Regions from separate parts of the Homo sapiens genome. Here all the other regions are linked to region 2. Evidence: promoter capture Hi-C in human tissues and cell types (Jung and others, 2019). All regions are on one chromosome and are shown on one strand. The core of a region is centred on a gene start or on the middle of the fragment in contact, and the rest is flanking DNA. Distances in the headings are between cores, read along the strand shown. Region 1 holds the start of UBXN6 (UBX domain protein 6). Region 2 holds the start of ZBTB7A (zinc finger and BTB domain containing 7A). Region 3 holds the start of PIP5K1C (phosphatidylinositol-4-phosphate 5-kinase type 1 gamma).

Evidence for each region. Contacts are between HindIII fragments. The study calls those that stand out against the background at their distance.
Region 1: the fragment with the promoter of UBXN6 here is called in contact with the fragment with the promoter of ZBTB7A in region 2 in 1 of the 25 tissues and cell types used here (bladder).
Region 3: a contact is called between the fragment with the promoter of PIP5K1C here and the fragment with the promoter of ZBTB7A in region 2, in 1 of the 25 tissues and cell types used here (stomach).

Annotation. Positions count from the first base shown.
Region 1 is chr19:4,455,726-4,459,126 of GRCh38, forward strand. UBXN6 (UBX domain protein 6) reads right to left here and starts at 2,069. Exons shown (of 11, transcript NM_025241.3): 1 at 1,890-2,069. The coding sequence starts at 1,972. RefSeq lists silencers at 1,871-1,940, 1,971-2,020 and an enhancer at 2,131-2,330. The HindIII fragment of the contact is 9,046 bases long and covers 1-3,401 here.
Region 2 is chr19:4,065,045-4,068,702 of GRCh38, forward strand. It overlaps ZBTB7A (zinc finger and BTB domain containing 7A), which reads right to left and starts at 1,855. Exons shown (of 3, transcript NM_015898.4): 1 at 1,638-1,855. RefSeq lists silencers at 386-1,155, 1,636-1,835, 1,846-1,895, 1,936-1,995, 2,206-2,315 and 3 more. The HindIII fragment of the contact is 23,363 bases long and covers 1-3,658 here.
Region 3 is chr19:3,698,477-3,702,064 of GRCh38, forward strand. PIP5K1C (phosphatidylinositol-4-phosphate 5-kinase type 1 gamma) reads right to left here and starts at 1,992. Exons shown (of 18, transcript NM_012398.3): 1 at 1,821-1,992. The coding sequence starts at 1,914. RefSeq lists an enhancer at 1,049-1,832 and silencers at 1,531-1,670, 1,751-2,240. The HindIII fragment of the contact is 9,003 bases long and covers 1-3,588 here.

The DNA.
Region 1 (3,401 bases), core at 819-3,318, 390 kb after region 2:
CCCAGAATGTTCTCCGGGGGAGTGGGAGGAGGATGGGGGTCTGGAAAGGGCTAGAGCTGCCGCAGGGAGAGAAGGAGGGGCAGATTTCCCCACAGCTGAGTCTCACTGTGTCCTGGGAGAGGCCTTCCCAAACCACCTGACGGCCCCTGCTCACCCTCCTTGGAGGCCCTGGGCACTCATCCAAGCACTCATCGCCTGAGCGCTCATCCAAGGTCTGTTGGTTTATTTGTCCATCGGCTCCCTCTAGAAGGTGAGCCCTGGGACAGCAGAGGCCTTCTCCTGTCCACCACTGCAGCCTAAAACAGGACTTGGTGCCCACCCACCCCACACACCCTGGATATGCAGTCTCGCTCCACAAGGGACCTCCGCACCGCTTCCTTTCCCAACCTTCCCCTCCAACCTTCCCCTCTCCGCCCAGGCTCTGGGCTGATCCAGCCATCACCCCGATACCCTGCATCCTTCCTATCATGCCCAGTCCCAGTGGCCCCAGCACCCCCCACCCACTATTGGTTGAATCAATGAAGGGCTCCCCCGATTTGCCCCCTTCTCTCCCTGACCCCTCTCCCTCCCTCACTCAGCCTTTGCTCTCCTGCTCTCCCCCAGGAACCCTGACGTCCTCACTATGCCCCTACCTCCATCACCACCCCACTGCCCCGTGATTCCTGACCCCCACTTCCTGCCACCTCCCTGCCTCTCCCAGCCCCCACTCCCTCACAATCCCTTCCACTATTGCTTACAGACCCGTGTCCTGGCTGCCTGGCTGACTTCCTCAGTCCCTCTCCATCAGTCCCCACCACCCTCTGGCCAGCCAGCTCCCTGCAGCGGCCCCAGCTCTCCAGTTTCCCTTTTCTCAACCCAACAGCCCTCAGCCTTGCACCTTCCCTAGCTCCACTTCTTCCCCGGCCCTCCCAGCTGGCTCAGCCCTGCTCAGGCCCTTCTCTCCAAGTCCTCCCTAGACAATCCGGAAGCCTGCCCGGCATCTATCTCCTTTCCCCTCCTCTCCCACTTCCATAATCCACTTGGCACAGTGACGTGGCAGAGAAGCCTCGCAGAGAAGCTCTTTCTCCCAGCCTGCTAAGACGCGTCTGTCTCACCCGTCTTCTCCTCTCAGGCCCCTCCCGGGTAAGAGTCCATCTGTCAGAATCCCTCACCTCCACTCTCCTCACACACCTTCCTCAGCCCCTCCCTCTCAATTCGCCAGGACATCCCAGGTCACTGACGACGCTGCCCACCCCGGCCTCCCTGGCCTTCCAGACTCTTTCTAGTCTCCCATCAGCCTCCCACGTGCTCCAGATACCAAATCCAGAACCCCTCTTCCCATGGATACCTCAAAACAACTCTTCACCACCCCACCCCACAGCTGTGCGTCCTCCTCCAAGCTCAGCTCCCATCCATGGTCACCTAGATTGCCCCAAATCATCCCGGCCTCTTCGGCCAGCCGGGTCCCCAGACAGAGCTCTCCCTCACCACCCGGCTCAGGACTCATGATCCCGTTTTTCCCCAAAGGTCGTTCCACTGACCCCCAACTGCCTACAGCCCCGTCGCCCTAATCCCCCGCCACTGCATCGGACCCTCCTGCGGCCCCGCCCCCGAGACCTCCCCTCCCGCCCCGCCCCCTGCGCTAGTTCCCCTCCCCTCGCCTCCCCCGCCGCGCCCCCGGGTCATACCCGCCCCCTCCTGCCCCGCCCCCAGATCTCTCTCCCCTCCCCCTGACGCCCACCCTCGGCCCGACTTCGTCCGCCCCCGGCGCCTCTCCCCCTCCCCTGACCCTCGCGTGCCGCTCCCAGCCCCTCATCCTCTCCGATCTCCCGAGCCGCCCAAGGCCCCAGATCTCTCTCCCCGGCCGTCCCCGCCCCGCAGGGCCTCAAGCCCCTGCGTTCCTCACGCACCCCACGGACTCTTTGAGCTTCTGACCGGGTCCCGCGCTCTTGAACTTGATGTCGGCCTTGAACTCCTGAAAGAATTTCTTCATGGTGGCGGCTGGCCCGGCGGCGGGGGGCCGCGGGGGCGGGGGGGCACGGGGCCCAGTCGGGGACGGGGCCGCCGGAGACCAGCCACCGGAAGAAAATTAAAAAAAAAAAAAAAAAAAAAAAAAAAATTTACCTCGCCGCCGGAAGTCCCGCCTTCCCCTGGCCTGCCACGTGACAATCGACTAGACGTGCCTCTCTAGCGCTCGGTGCCTTGCTGGCCCAGGGCGGCCGCTCTGTACGCTGGAGCCGCGTCTCTGTGGTTCTTCCGGACTCCGTTGCCAGGGCGACGAGTGCACCTCTCGATTGGAGACAGGGCATTCCGTGGCGCTCCCCAAACGGTGACAAACGGTGATAGGACAGGGACAGGCCAACTGAACCTCGCAGAGAAAGCACTGGGCCCTATCCCTTTCGCTGCTCAACCTAAACTAGGCGCGGTGGCTCACGCCTGCAATCACAGCACTTTGGAGGCTCAAGCGGAAGGATTGCTTGATCCCAGAAGTTGGAGACCAGCCTGGCAACATGGCAAAACCTCGTCTCTATAAAAAAAAAAAAAATAAAATAAAATAAATTAGCCGAGGGTGGTGGCGCGCGCCTCTCAGCTACTTGGGAGGCAGAGGCGGGAGGATCGCTTGAACCCAAGAGGTCGAGGCTGCAGTGAGCTGTGATCAAGCCACTGCATTCCAGCCTGGGCGACAGAGAGAGACCCTGTCTCAAGCAAAACAAAAAAAATTCCAACCTTCTCTGTCTCCCCAGAGCTTACGTGATAAAATCCCAATTCAATGTTGGGTATTGGAGGCCCCCACGATCTGGCCTGTTTTGGTGCCTGAAGCACCCCCCCGCCACCATCACCACGTACCCTAGGTAGGAGCTGTTTAAGAGGATGCACCTGGGCCGGGCGCGGTGGCTCATGCCTGTAATCCCAGCACTTTGGGAGGCCGAAGCGGGCGGATCACAAGGTCAGGAGATCGAGACCATCCTGGCTAACACGGTGATACCCCGTCTCTACTAAAAATACAAAAAATTAGCCGGGCATGGTGGCAGGCGTCTGTACTCACAGCTACTCGGGAGGCTGAGGCAGGAGAATGGCGTGAACCCGCGAGGCGGAGCTTGCAGTGAGCCGAGATCTCACCACTGCACTCCAGCCTGGGCGACAGAGCGAGACTCCGTCTCAAAAAAAAAAAAAAAAAAAAAAAAAGAGGATGCACCCAATGCACCCAATTGGGACCTGGGGATTGGGGATCCACTTTGGTGGACACCAGTTAATAGTGGCGTACTTTGGTCTGTGCAATCCACAAAGAAGATACACAAAGTGACAGTTAAAACAAGCCTCAAAAAATGGGAGTTGGGGGTCAGACGTGGTGGCTCATGCCTCTAATCCCAGCACTTTGGGAGGCCGAGGCCGGCGGATCACTTGAGGTCAGGAGTTTGAGA
Region 2 (3,658 bases), core at 605-3,104:
GGGGCTGGGTCTCCCGCCCGGGAGGTAGGGAGCGGGAGGGAGGGGGCTGGATCCCACCAGCTCCCCCCTCCCCTGCCCGGGCTCAGGCTTCGCACGTGGTGGTGGCGTCAAGGGAAAGGAGGGGGGGTCCGGGCCAGAGGAGACGGGGTCACGCGCTTTGGGGGCGCGGACGGCGGGGACTGGGGTGCTCTCTCCGCCCCCTCCCGCGGGTCGGAGCCGGACGGCCGTCCGGGCAGGGCGAGGGGCCAGGCCAGGCCCCCCACCCGGGGCTGAGTCAGGCCCGGGCGGGGGCAGGAAGCGGCCCCCTCCCCCGCCCCGGCCGCAGCGCGCGGCCCCCGCCCGGCCCGCGGTCCCCCGCCGCCTCGCCCGCGCGGGGGGCTCCTACCTCCTTCCCGGGGCAGCGGCGAGGGGGCCCGGCCCCGGCGGCGGCGGTGGCGGCGGCTGCGGCTGGGCTGGCTCCCTCCGAGGGGCCGGGAGGCGGCAGTGAGCCTGGCCCCGCGCCACCCCCCGCCGCCGGCGGCCAATCCCCACCCGGGCTGGGGGGAGGGCGATGCAAATTACCCCGGATCTGGGTCCGCCCGCCCGCCTCCCCCACGCCCGGGCCCGGCCTGCGCTAGGCCGCGCATCCCCGGGCTCGCCTGCACCGCGCGGCCGCCCGGGCCGCCGCCCTCCCCGGGGAGCGCGGGGAGGGTGACCCCCCCCCCACGGGCGGGGGGCCGAGGGGAGGGGGGCTGGGGACGGTTACACAACCAGGCGGGGAGGGGCCCCGGGGCGGGGAGGGGGCCGGCCCGCGGGCCGCGCAGCCGGAAGCCGGGACCGCCACCGGCCCCCGGCGAGGGGAGCCCGGCTCCAGGCCCCGCCCCCTGGCGGGCTGGCCCCGCCCCCGCGCCGCGCCGCGCGATCGGCCCGCGCCCATTGGCTCTCCGGCCCGCCGCTCACCGCCCCTCCTCCGCACCGCCCCTACCCGCAGGCCGCGGCGGGCTGTCGGCGCGGGGCACCCTGGGACTTGTAGTCCAAGCCGCTTGCCACCTGCCGGCTGCAAACGGCGGAGGGACTACGAAGCCCAGAGGTCCCTGCGGCCCTGCCCGCCCACCCGGACACCCCACCCCTTCCCCCTCCTTTCCGAAGCCCCCCTCCCTGTTTTTTCAGCCCCCTCCCCCCCATCCCCCATGGAGCTCAATCCTGGCCAACTCCAACGTATGCACGCAGCACCGAATAGGCCCCCGGGGGGCGAGAGCGCCCCTCGTCTTCAGCTGGAAACTTAGCAGGCGACGCGCCCCCCTATCTCCCCACGCCGGCTCCCCCCACCCTCAATGCAGCCCTGCTTCCCCTCCCCCGCTCCCCGCGCGCCTGGGAGCCCCGAAAAGCCATGCACCCGGGTTGGGGGGGGCTGGCGCACAAGCTCATGCACTTAGCCCCCAATCCCCCCTTCCCGGGCGGCGCCCCCTCCCCGCGCTCGGGATCCAGGGCGCCTCCAGCCTCCGGGCAGCTGCCAACCACCCCTTCCTCTGAAACTTGGGGGAACGTCCCCGGCTCCCCGGATCTCCCCTTCCCGAGGGGGCAGCGGTGGCCGCAGCGACCCCCGCCCGTCCCCGCCCTGCACCCCGTGCCGGGGGCCGCGCCGGGCGCTGACTTACCTCGCGGGGCCGGGCCGGGGCGCGCGGGGCCGGGGCCCGAAGTTGGGACTGGGCTCCCTCGGCCGCTCGCCTCCGGGGTCCGCGGCGCTCGCTCTGCCCGCGTCGCGCTGCCCTGGTCGCTCCCTCGCGCGGCGGCGGCGGCGTCACTGCCCCTACAGTAACTGTACAGTACAGCCAAAGCCCCGTATGATGCTCGCGACTCCCTTCCTGGTTTCTCCGAGGGCAAGAGGGGTCCTCCCTTGTCTTAAAGGTGCCGCAGCCGCCGGCCCCCCCACGCCCAGCCCGCCCCCCCCAGCCTGGCCTCGGAGGCCAGAACAGGCTCGGCAGGTCCCCTCTTGCCACGTCTCTGCCCTCCCGTGGGGCTTCGCCCGCTGCGCCGGGGAGACCGGGCTGTTATTAGGTTTTGTCAAGTCGGGGGGGGGGGTCCGGCCCGCCCCGGCGCGCCCCCCCGCCTCTGACCTCTCCGCCCCGCCGCGCGGCGCCGTGCCAGCTTGCCAGCTTATCTGGCCCCAGAGCTCCCCGGGGCGCGGGGGGAGCGGGCCCCCCGGGGTGGAGGGGGGGTGGGGGCCTCCAGATAAACAGGCCCCCAGCCTCTGCGCAGGGGCGGGGTGCGGGGGGGCGCGGGCTGTGCCCCCGACGCCCGGGGCGTGGCAGGATGGCAGCGGGGGCGGGGAGCGCGGTGCGCACAGCGAGGAGCGACGCGGGCGTGTGGGTCGCGCGGCCTGGGCTGCCGGGGGTGGGTTGGGGGTGAGGCGGTGGGGATCCCCCCGCAAGGCCAGGCCCTGGGCCTCCCCGGGCCTCAGTGGGACTTGCCGCGCCAGGGACCCCGGGGGGTGGCCTTGCCAAGGACAGCCCGGGTCCGCGGGGCTCCCGGGTCCCTAAATGAAACCACCAACCTGCCCTCCCGCGATTATATAAAGGAGTCGCCTCCACCCCGCTGCGCTAGGGGCGTCAGCGGGGGAAGGGGTTGGCGAGGGGCGGGGAGGGCGGTTGTTTTCCCGGCTTCGCGAGTTCCCCCACCCGGCTGCGGGCCGCGGGGCGGGACGGGGACCGGGCCCTGGACGCCTGGTCCGCGCGGGCCGCTCCTTGGCACAAGGGGGTCTGCATGGCTCGCGAGGGGCGGAGGTGGGGAGTGGGGAGGCGTTGGTTCAGCGCGACTTTTTTTTTTCCCCTGTCCGTTTCTCCCACTTCCTCCCCGGTCGTGGGAGAGGTCCGGCGGGGGACAGGGAAGGGGGAGCAGGGCACGAGTGGTGAGAACGTCCTGGCCCGGCCCGGGGAGGGCTGGCTGGTGCGACCGCGCGCCTGGGGGGGGGGGGGAGGGCTCCAGGACTCAGTTTCCCCTTCCTCATTCCTCCAGACAGAGAGAGTACTGACAGCTGCTTTAGCTGCCGTTTAGTGAGCGCTTATCCAGTGGGTGACCCTGTTCCGGGGCTCACTGTGCCTTCATTCTAACACCTAATCCCAGGGTCATTATTATGTTTTATTATTATCTGGCATTCTTAGTACCAACACCACCTGACAGCGGGAACCACCACCGGCCTGGGTGTAGTGTACCCAGCCTGTCCTCTGACTTCAAAGCCTCTCCTGCGAGAGACACAGTTTATGGCTTCTTCGCACAATTTATTAAAAGCGCCTTTCAACACCCAAACGGGTTGGATTGGCTTTTGTAATAATAATCTGGCTACGAGGGGAAACCCGGGAGGGCCCCCCGGAGGGGAAGTGGACTGTCTCAGGACTCGCAGCCTGAAACCAGCCGGGTAGGTGGGAAGGGACCCAGGGAGGGGCCGCGTGGATCTAGGGCGAGGGTGTCATCCAGGGACTTTGCTCCAAGGACCCTGCCTGGGATAGAAATCCTTCTTCCTTCAACCACCGGCCATCAGCCTCGGGACCAGGAGGCCACGCTGAAGCACGATTCTTCCCAGATCCCACTGTTGTGTTTGGATTTCTGCAAATGATGCCCAGACGTTTTTTTTTGTTTTGTTTTTTTGTTTTTTGTTTTAGACAGACTTGCTCTGTCGCCC
Region 3 (3,588 bases), core at 742-3,241, 370 kb before region 2:
GATAAAAAGCAAGCAGTTCACAGAGTCATAAACGTGTGGCATTTCTCACCAGGGCCGTCCTGCCCCCAGGGGACACTGAACGGTGTCTGGGTCACTTGTGGCTGTCACAACTGGCAGGTGCTCCTGGCATGGAGTGGGCAGAAGCCAGGGGCGTTGCTCAGCACCCCTAATTTCCTGACTCAAAATACCTCTGCCAAGGCACAGAAGCCCCAGTGAGGCATGAAACCATCTCGGTGAAGAACAAGCAGGCCCCTTTATGTGCTCACGTCTCTGTGGCCCAGCCAGGCACAACCTAAACTCACCAGCGCTAACATCAGGAGGGATGGCGTTGGAGGAGTGAGGCAACTCTGAATTTTAAACATTCAGAAGCAGTATATGGCCAGCTGGGGTCAGATTTCTGTGGATTTCAGGGATGGGCAGAGATGCCAGACCCTGACCTTCCAGCCCTCCCCGGCCCCCCACCCCCACCCCCCCACTCCCCCGCTCTCCCACCCCACCACCATGCTCAGTCTGGAGCTGGCAACTTTATCTGTCCCCGGTGCTCCCAGAGCCCCTGATAAGATGAATGGTCGCGGTGTGGTTTTCTTTTGGTCAGCGAGTCCTGGGCTACTTTGTCTCTGACCAGCTGGGGTCAGAGGGCTGACAGCGGAAGTTGGGGGGCCCAAGAAAGGAACCCGGGCTGGGGCCTGGTGCCCTGCCTGGGTTCCTCCACCATGTCTCTTGCTGGCCAGGCCAGGACACCGGCTGCCCGCAAAGAAAGGGGCGAGGCCACTGGCTCTGGGGAAGGAACCGGGTCACCTACCAAGCGGTTCCAGATGGCCGCCGGGAGGGAAGCCACGAGTGTCTTTCAAGGCGGGGGGTGGGGGGGGGACTTGATGACTTCCACACTCTCTCTCTCTCCAGACATCTCCCCAACTCCCAGGCAGCACGCATCGCCCGCCCGCCCGCTTGCCCGCCTGCCAACCAAGGAAGCTTCGGGAGGCCTGGGGGGAGAAGGAGGACGGATGCCCGTGTGGGTGTCTACAGAGACGCTGCTGCTGGCTGCCTGGGAGGAGCAGAGGATTTTGTGAATCCGGAAACTTCCGATTTGGGAGCTTGTGACCTCGACTGAGAAGGAACTGTTCCCTTCCTCTGGGCTCTGCACACCGTCCCCACAGAAGGGAAGGCCCAGCTGCCGCCACCTACCCGGCTGGAGGTCCAGGAAGCAGCTAAAGGGGGCATGAGACAGCCGTGCCCCCCGCCCAGCCCGCAGCCCCACCAGTGTGTCCTGGGGGAAGGCTCGGGGAGAGGAAAAGGGGGCGACAGGGCACCCTGTGTGCACAGCCGGGGCGGTGGAGGCATCTTGAGATGTAACCCTTTTCCTCCCCTCATTTTAGCAGGGAGGTAAACTGAGGCCCAGGAAGGTGAGGAAAGGTCGCGCACCCGGACTCAGGTCTGGGGACTTACAGAAAGGGAGGTGACATCAGGAGGTGGGCACGCACGGCCTCAGAGACCCCCGCCTCCACCCAAGCAGCCGCCACTCACACGACGGGCAGCCCCTGGGAGCGGGTCAGGCAGAACGGGGATCCCCAGCGGCGCCCACGCCGAGTCGCCCCCGGCCCGGGAGCGGTGGGAGGTAGCCCCTCGCAGGCCTCCCGCTTCCCGGCGCGGCTTCAGCCCCGTCCTCCCCGCGGCTCCAGGGGACTGCCCCGCCCCAGGCTCCTGGAACCGGCGGCGCCCCCGCAGCGACCGTGCAGCCCCCGCCCCGGCCCCGCAGCCCCGCGACTCTCGGCGCTCGGACGAGCCCAGCGGGCCGCAGCCCCGGGAGGCCGGGCCGTTACCTGCCGCCGCCCCGCTCTCTGCCGCCCACGCCGCCTCCGAGGGCACGGCCCCCGCCTCAGCGCTCTCCGCCTCGTCCGGTACCTCCAGCTCCATGGCCGCGCGCGGACGGCGGCGGGGGCGCCCGAGGGGGACCCGAGCTGCGACCGCCGCCGCCGAACAACAAGCGCCGCCGGCCAAGGGAGGGCGCGCCGGGCCGGCGCGGGGCGGACGGGGCGGGGCCTGCGTGCGTGCGACGCCGCGGACGGCGCGCGGCCAATCGGGGCTCGGGGGCGGGGCCTGCTTGCGACCCGCAGCCAGGAGCGCCTCGAGTGCCCCCTCGCGCCCAGGGGTGGGAGTACAGAGCCAGGCTCGCCATTCCATCGTATTAGGTCAGTAAGATTGACAGGCACGATACGTATCAATAACATTGCTGTGCACAACACATACCAATAACATGGATCTACACAACACATGACAATAATATGGATCTATACAGCACGTGCCAATAATATGGATGTACACAGCACATGCCAATAACATGGATCTAAACAGCACATGCCAATAACAGGGACCTGCACAGCGCATGACAATAACATGGATCTGGCCGGGCGCGGTGACTCACGCCTATATTCCCGGCACTTTGGGAGGCCGAAGAGGGCGGATCACCTGAGGTCAGGAGTTCAAGACCATCCTGACCAACATGGTGAAATCCTGTCTCTACTAAAAATACAAAAAATAGCTGGGCGTGGTGGCACATGCCTGTAATCGCGGCTACTCGGGAGGCTGAGGCAGGAGAATCGCTGGAACCCAGGAGGGAGAGGTTGCAGTGAGCTGAGATCGCACCATTGCCCTCCAGCCTGGGCCACAGAGTGAGACTCTGTCCCAAAAAAAACCACACATGGACCTACACAGCACATGCCAATAACATGGAGTTACCCAATGCATGCCAATAACATGGATATACACAATACATGCCAATAACACGGATATGCACAATACATGCCAATAACATGGATATACACAATACATGCCAATAACATGAATCTATACTATATCATTGACATGGATCTACATAAAACATACAAATAGCATTGCTATATGCAATACATGCCAATCACATTGCTATACACAATGAATACCAATAACATTGATCTACACAATACATGTAACTAACATTGATACACACACTACATGTCAATAACATTGATATACACACTACATGCCAATAACATGGATATACACACTACATGCCAATAACATTGATATACACACTACATGCCAATAACATTAATGTACACACTACATGTCAATAACATTGATATACACACTACATGTCAATAACATTGATATGCACAAAATATACCAATAACAGTGATATACACAGTACATGTAAATAATATTGATCTACACAGGGCCGGGCGCGGTGGCTCATGCCTGTAATCCCAAGACTTTGGGAGGCCGAGGCGGGCGGATCACGAGGTCAGGAGATTGAGACCATCCTGGTTAACATGGTGAAACCCCGTCTCTACTAAAAATACAAAAAATTAGCCAGGCGTGGTGGCGGGCGCCTGTAGTCCCAGCTACTTGGGAGGCTAAGGCAGGAGAATAGGGTGAACCTGGGAGGCAGAGCTTGCAGTGAGCTGAGATCGTGTCACTGCACTCCAGCCTGGGCAACAGAGCGAGACTCCATATCAAAAAAAAATATATATATATATAGATCTACACAATACATGTTATTAACATTGATCTACGCAATACATATCAATAACATTTGCAATTAACTACCTG